2 separate regions of the Homo sapiens genome follow, and region 1 is linked to region 2. Evidence: promoter capture Hi-C in human tissues and cell types (Jung and others, 2019). All regions are on one chromosome and are shown on one strand. Each heading gives the region's core, a stretch centred on a gene start or on the middle of the fragment in contact. The rest is flanking DNA. Distances are from core to core; before and after follow the strand shown. Region 1 has its middle 120 kb from the start of BET1. Region 2 holds the start of TFPI2 (tissue factor pathway inhibitor 2).

Evidence for each region. The method cuts DNA at HindIII sites, captures the fragments that hold promoters and counts their contacts. A contact is called where the count stands out against the background at its distance.
Region 1: a contact is called between a fragment that was not itself captured here and the fragment with the promoter of TFPI2 in region 2, in 1 of the 25 tissues and cell types used here (H1 embryonic stem cells).

What each region holds. Positions count from the first base shown.
Region 1 is chr7:94,124,764-94,128,532 of GRCh38, forward strand. No RefSeq gene overlaps it. Among named protein-coding and RNA genes, the nearest start is that of BET1, 120 kb to the left of the region's middle. The HindIII fragment of the contact is 3,985 bases long and covers 1-3,714 here.
Region 2 is chr7:93,888,505-93,892,400 of GRCh38, forward strand. TFPI2 (tissue factor pathway inhibitor 2) reads right to left here and starts at 2,249. Exons shown (of 5, transcript NM_006528.4): 1 at 2,087-2,249; 2 at 1,633-1,815; 3 at 531-719. The coding sequence starts at 2,174. TFPI2-DT (TFPI2 divergent transcript) reads left to right here and starts at 2,390. Exons shown (of 2, transcript NR_134235.1): 1 at 2,390-2,575. The HindIII fragment of the contact is 8,158 bases long and covers 228-3,896 here.

The sequences.
Region 1 (3,769 bases), core at 472-2,971, 240 kb after region 2:
AGAAGAGAAGTGGTTCTGTGATTTTAGGTACAACCCCTACCTCACTGTTTCAATTATACTCATGATCAGCACATAAGGAAATCGTTTATAACCAAATTTGAAAACCCAAAGTTCAGTGGATAAGTTTAACATCTTTTGTGAGAAATCAGAGACCAAAAGGAAAAGGAGGACAGCCTACTCTCCTTTCTACCTCTCTAAAGTTCCAAGGAAATTGCATCTGTTCTCCTCTATCTGTCAGATGTGGAACTAATACTGGTGATGTCCCAGAACAATTCTGGGTCTGCCTACAGTGTTATTCCCAAAGATATCCCAAAGAGCTCCTAGAAAATAAAGACAAAGCCTAAGGATCAGATACATCTTGAGACTGATAGAGAATTCCAGAAGTTTCTCTCCTTCAGTACTTTATTGTAGTGGACCTATGCCTGCAAAATGACTTGTCCTTTGTTGTACCTAACCTACTCCTTCTAAATGACTAAGTTAACTCTTTAATAATTACCAAAGCTGGCAAAGTTTTTTAAAATAGCTTTTCTTCTGGTTCAAATAACGAGGGAAAAAGCACAAGTTTTGTTTGAATATTTGCTCACGATGATCTGTAACTATTCTAATGTTCAAATAAATATTTCAAGCTACTTATGACAAACATATAATTGCAGATCCCTTTCCAGTAAGGATAAGCATCACCACTTACTGAGTTCCAGATAGTTTTCAAGGTAGATTGAATATGTTATCATCAATTCTTACAACAACTTGGGAAATTGTAGCCCAGTTTAACGGATGAGGAAACTAATTGATAGGATACATTACTAGTACAAGATCACGCTGGTAATAAGAGGCAAAACTCAGATCTCACTTGTTCCAAATCCTGTGTCCTTTGTGCTACAGCAGACTTCCTCTTTGCAGAACTCCCCAGATTCCATTTAATCTTCCTGCTCAAAGGTGTCATTACTTTTACTATGATAACTGTTATGGATTTGGGATTGCTGCTGGTGGTAGTGCTATCAAACAGAAAAGTAGTAAGGTGGTGAAGATCACAGATACCATGTCAGCCTCTCTGGGTCTGAATCTTGGCTCCACCCTTTGCTGTCTGAGTGTCCTTACGTATGTAACTCAACTTAGTGCCTTTATTTCCCCCTCTTTAAAATGGAAATAATAATAGCACCACCTCAAATGGCTGTTGCAAGAATTAAATGAATGAATTCACTGCTTCTCAAACATCAGTATGCATCCGAATGGCCTGGGAATCTGGTAAACCTGTGGATCCTGACTCCAAGAGCTAGAGTGGAGCCTGAGATTTTGCATGCAGGATACTTAGGACAGTGGCTGACATGGAATGAGTTTTCAATAAATGTCATGTATGATCATTTAATGATCAGATAAGGGAAGGTCTGTTGGAGAAAATATTAATTTCACACATTCAAATAAATTTTTGAGATAATGATGATTTAAGAGATCCTGTACTGTGCAAGCCAGCCCACCATGCCAGACCTTCTACTGGGTTTCACCTTTGCATGACTGAGGAGTCAAGTACAGGTCACCTTTTTTGTTACTGGAAATGGTATAATTTTCAAAATGCAGTTGGAAGGAATGTGGCTCACAGTGATGTAGCCCCCTAAAGAGCAATTTTTTTATTGAACAAATATTTATGGAGTATGTGTCAGGTATCAAACCAGGCACTGGGAATACTTGGCCATGCCATCATTTTAAGCTTTTCCTCCATAGAAAATGTAGCATATATCCCCTAACACTAATTGGAAACTAACTAGTTGCAAAGTGGGTGTTACAGGGAATATCAGTCCTTCCCCTAAATCTGTGTTCCTTTTCACTTATCTATCATTTTCTATTTATTTCCCCACTTTCAATCTGTTTAAGTACAGCCCTCCTCTGGACAATTCCTGAGCATATTCACTGTCTTATCCACCACACACATTTTACAGTATTGAGTTCATATATAATATACAGCTTTTAGCATTGTGTACTGGAAAAAATAATTAACAATTAACTATAATTTATTTACATGTCCTACATTGTTTTCAAAATTTTCCTATACTGCCACAAAAGAAAATTTTTCTTGTTCATGTACCTTACATATTTGTGAGGAGGACTTGTAGACACAATAACCTAAATTCAATCTTTAAAACAAAGGACTATTTTATAACCGTGTTTAATTCTATGATGTAAAGGCAGAGTTAGAATCTCAGCTGAAAGCAAAATCCCAGGACATTTGGCTAGACATATGCCTTTTTTATGAAACATATCTATATTAACATAATTTGCACACTTGTACATGTCTATCTTATATCAGCTTAATCCTTATGGACATCATTCTCATATTCTCCCTTAGGAGGTAGTAGTAATGGTTTCACATGTTAGAAAACTCAACTTGCTAACAGCATTCCTAGGATTTTCCCTTTTGCTGTAAAGCTACAGATTTTTGGCATTTGTTCTGCTAAATGCTCAAAAGAATAAAACAGAAAGCAGTTGTTCTTAATTAAACCTATTTGAGTCACAGATCCCTTTGAGCATCTGATGAGTTTATGGATCCTTTCTCCAGAAAAATAACCACATGCACATACTTGGAGATTCCAGGTATAATTTCAGTAGTTTTATAGACTCCCCAAAGTACATCCATCCAATGACCTTAGGTTGAGAGTGCCTATTGTAAGAGCTCTCCAGCCTGTCTATAAACATCAGCGTATATTACAGCAGAACCCTTTCCTCTGAGCCATTTACATTGAGAAGGTGGGAAGCAGTTAGGCACCCAGGTACTTTTGAATGAAGATGGAGTCTCATGTTACCTATCAAACACAAGCCCCAAAGCTGTAATTGACATAAGAACCTAACTTATATGATCTGACATCATGGTGCTGTGACCCATGGAACAGTTTTCAAGGAAAAAACTGGGCCGGGCCAGTTTTCAAGGAAAAAAAGAGTGGGCTGGGCGCAGTGGCTCATGCCTGTAATCCCAGCACTTTGGGAGGCTGAGGTGGGCGGATCACCTGAGGTCGGGAGTTCGACACCAGCCTGACCAGCATGGAGAAACCCTGTCTCTACTAAAAATACAAAATTAGCCGGGCGTAGTGGCACATGCTTGTAATCCCAGCTACTCGGGAGGCTGAAGCAGGAGAATTGCTTGAACCTAGGAGACAGAGGTTGCGGTGAGCAGAGGTCGCGCCATTGCACTCCAGCCCGGGCAACGAGAGTGAAACTCCATCTCAAAAAAAAAAAAAAAAAAAAAAAACATAAGAATGAATAGTCGATGCTTATCAGGCTTCTTCAAGGAAAGGCTCTGGGCACATGAGGATTTATTTATGCATGCACATAGGCTTATGGAGGTGACTGCCACCTTGATGTCACTAGCACATTCCTCTTTAGAGATGGAGATGTAGGTACAGCTGTGATGGTAGATGATAGAAAAACACCTGTTTGTTATTACAGAAAGGATTCTGACTCAGAGCCAGGAAAGTCAGTTGTCTAATCCCAATTGCCATTAAATATGTGATCTTAAGCAAGTCATTTTATTTCCCTTGGCCTAAGTTTATTAATCTGTTAAAATTGTGCAATGGCATGTGACTTTCATACCTCAGAGTCTTCTCTGGGTATAAAATCAAATAACTTGTGGAAGGTATTTTGGAAAAAAACGTATCTATGAATTCTCACAAAAGCACCATACGTTATGAACATTTTCAAAACTACCATCAAAGATGTTGGAAGACCCTTTTCAAGTCTTACCATTGACTCGTTTTGCTATTACTACTCTTATCATTACTAT
Region 2 (3,896 bases), core at 999-3,498:
AAAGAAAGAAAAGAAAGAAAGAAGGAAGGAAGGAAGGAAAGAAGGAAGGAAGGAAGGAAGGAAGGAAGGAAGGAAGGAAGGAAAGAGAAAGAAAGAAAGAAAGAGAAAAAGAAAGGAGAGAAAGGAAGGAAGGAGAGAAAGAAAGAGAAAGAGAAAGAAGAAAAAAAAAAAAATTAGCTGGGCATGGTGGCGGGCGCCTGTAGTCCCAGCTACTCAGGAGGCTGAGGCAGGAGAATCGCTTGAACCCGGGAGGCAGAGGTTGCAGAGAGCCGAGATTGTGCCACTGCACTCCAGCCTGGGCAACAGGGCGAGAGTCCGTCTCAAAAACAACAAATCAGAAGAGGCAGAAAGCAAAAATTTGAATCATGGCTTTGTCACTTTCCAGTCCTAAGAACTTGACAAGTCACTAACTTGTCAAGTAATGTGAAATCATGAAAATGCACATGTTAATTTCGCATCAAATTGAGTTTTTTCCACCCAAATGTCTTTTCAAAAAAGTGAAATAGAAATACCATAAAAATCGTATTTACTTTTCTTTGGTGCGCAGAAGCCCATACAAGTAGCTTCATCTGGAAACCTGTTCTCAATCCGGTTCCGGTGACACCCACCGGAAAAGAATTTTTCACATGTCATGGAACTTAGATTAAAGAAATACTTTTCTGTGGACCCCTCACACTGGTCGTCCACACTCACTTGCAGCCGGCAAACTTTGGGAACTTCTAGGAAAAGGAGGGTAATAGAACAATGTTAGTCAAAAGTAGCCTTCTTATTAAACCATCACTGTATTTTCAGCAACATTTTGTGGGGGGAGAGAAGTTGTATTAGTGTTGGGATAGTAAATACCCAGAATACTCCCATGAATCCAGATATTTACTTTTTTTTTTTCTAACAGTGTATTCAGAGCTGACTCAGCTGTGATGTATCTTTCAAGTTCAGTAGAAAGACTCTCTGTTTTCTCTGGGTGTTCTCTGATTGTACATATGCAGTGAATCAAAGCTTATTCACATGAATACGCATTTTCCCCTGGCTCAGTTCCTTGAATGGAAAAGCCCCATGTTCTCTTACAGGCCTTAACCGATATAATTTAAAAATTAAAAATAAATTAAAATATAACAGTATTATGAATCTCCACCATGTCCCGCAACTAATCCAACACATGTTTGGGTATCGGGACAAAAGTAGAGTTATATAATGAGCTAAGTCACACTTCAATAATAAAATCCACTAAAAATATTTCAGATTGATGGATAATCGACAGAAGGAAATGATGTACTCCAGGAGAGATAAAAATCATAGGTTTGGAATTAATGAAAAATACAGAGAAGCACTTACGTTGTACCTAACACGTTATTCTCTTGCATTTATTATACCCCATGGTGAGGGAACAAATCTTTCCCTGAGTCCGCACAGGCACTGAATTATGATCAATGTCAGTTGGGAGACAGGAAATGTGTTAGTGGTTGTAAATTTGTGATTACTTTTAAGAAACTGAAAACCATGAGGTTTGCTTAACACTTGAGAAAACCCAGGCTAAAACTTCCTGTAGAAAGCGAGACGTGGGAAACTGGCGAAGCTGCTACCAGCCGCCGGCGCAAGGAGCGCGAGAGTCCTGGGTGCGCGCAGGGCACTTACTTTCTATCCTCCAGCAAGCATCGTCGCAAGCCTCCCAGGTGTAGAAATTGTTGGCGTTGCCCTCGCAGCCCCCGTACAGGAACTGGCGGCAGCTCTGCGTGTACCTGTCGTAGTAGTAACGGAGAAGTAGGGCCCGGCAGGGTCCGTAGTCTAGGGGCAGGAGACAGATCTCCGCGTTATTTCCTGAAGAAGGGGCAGAAGGAGAGCAAAAGAGAGGGAAAGTGGTCAGGCGTAGCTCCTAGGAGGAAAGAACATCCCGGGGAGTTCTGTCCCCTTCCGAGCGGAGGGGCCTCTGCAGAGAAAGTGCAAACTTGGGAGCGAGTCCCCCCTGCCAGCGGAGCGCGCGGCAGGGACCTGGAGAAAGCGAGGCTTGGAGGGCGCCTACACGGGGCCCCATGGCCCGCTGCGCCCTCTCCGCCGGTTGGGGAGAGAAGCTCCTGGAGCGGCCAGATACCTGTTGGCTCCTGAGCAGCATCGCCCAGTGCAGCCTCCGTCAGGAAAAGCAGCAGAATCGACAGCCCCAGGGGGCGAGCGGGGTCCATGGTGCAGGGGGTCGGGCGGCCCGCTGGGCAAGGCGTCCGAGAAAGCGCCTGGCGGGAGGAGGTGCGCGGCTTTCTGCTCCAGGCGGCCCGGGTGCCCGCTTTATGCGGGGCGAGCGTCCGGCCGACCCCCGCCGGGGCGGAGCCTGAGGGGTGGCTGATTCATGCACGGGGACTGTCACCCCGCCGCCCCCGCGCTGCAAACTGTGTAAGAGGGAGAGGAATTCCCCGCCAAGTTGAAAAGTTGAACCTGCCTCCCAAACTTTCTCCTGTAGTCCAGACGGGGACGCCCTGAGGGAGCGTTTGTGTCAGTAATGGGAAATCTGCAAGCTAGACGGAAATGACCTGCTAGTGATTGCGCTGTAAAGAAGCCGGAATCCACCTCTTGAAGGCATGAAGTTCAGGTATTTGAAAGGCTGGTGGAGAGAAAGTGCGGAGTTCTTGGGTCAGAGCGGAGCGGGATTCGTTGCAATGGACCTTCAGATTAGATTAGAAATGTAAATAAGTGTATATTTATATTTATACACACAGATTTCAATCGAGTTCTAATTTACATTTAATACAGGCTTATAATATATCGTAGGTGGACAGTTTGATAAATTTTGACAACTGTGTAGCCACCAATAAAGAATTAGAACATTTTGGCTGGGCGCGGTAGCTCGCGCCTGTAATCCCAGCACTTTGGGAGGCCAAGGCGGGTGGATCACCTGAAATCAGGAGTTCGAGACTAGCCTGGCCAACATGGCGAAACCCCGTCTCTATTAAAAACACAAAAAATTAGCCGGGCGTGGTGGCGGGCACCTGTAGTCCCAGCCCCTCGGGAGGCTGAGGCAGGAGAATGGCTTGAACCCAGGAGGCGGAGGCTGCAGTGAGCCCAGATGGCGCCACTGCACTCCAGTCTGGGCGGCAGAGTGGAACTCCGTCTCGAAACGAAGAAAAAGAAGAAGAAGAAGAAAAAAAAAAGAGTTAGAACATTTCCATCACTCCAGAAAGCTCCTGCAGACTTTTTCCTAAATCAATCCTTCCATCCTTAGGCCAGGGGCAAACACTCTTCTCATTTCGATTACCATAGATTAGATTTGCCTATTCTTGAATTTCATATAAACGGAATTATAAAGTATTCACTGTGTAGTATTTCTTTCTCACACTTCCTGTTTTTGAGATACGCCCAGGTCACTGCATCAATAGTCTGTTTCTTTTAATTCCTGCGTAGTCCAAGGTATGAATTTACCAAAACGTATGAATATCCCACAATGTATAAATATGTTGCTGTGTGTATCAATAGTCTGTTCCTTTAAATCATTGAGTAATATTCTAATATATCACAAATGTCTTATTACTGGAATTTGTGTTGTTTCTAGTTTGTTTGGGGGCTCTTATGAAAAAAGCTGCTTTGTGTGGACCTGCAATTTTTATTACTCTTGGATAAAATACTTAGAAATGTTAGACACTGCCAAAGGATTTTTTCAAGATGATTGTACCATTTTACACCCCAACCAAGCATGTATGAAGCTATGTTTTTGTATGTATCTATGTTTTTGGAGAAGAACCATAGCAGCCCAGAGAGATAGCCTTGGGGAGTTCTGAAGATTTGACCAGATCAGTGTATTCCCACACATTTCCTAATGTCAGTGCATCCATTAAAGTTCCCTGTTCCTTTGACATATTAGCTTGTGATCCACTTTTTTTTTTAATACAAACAATTACCTACAGTGAAATTTTACA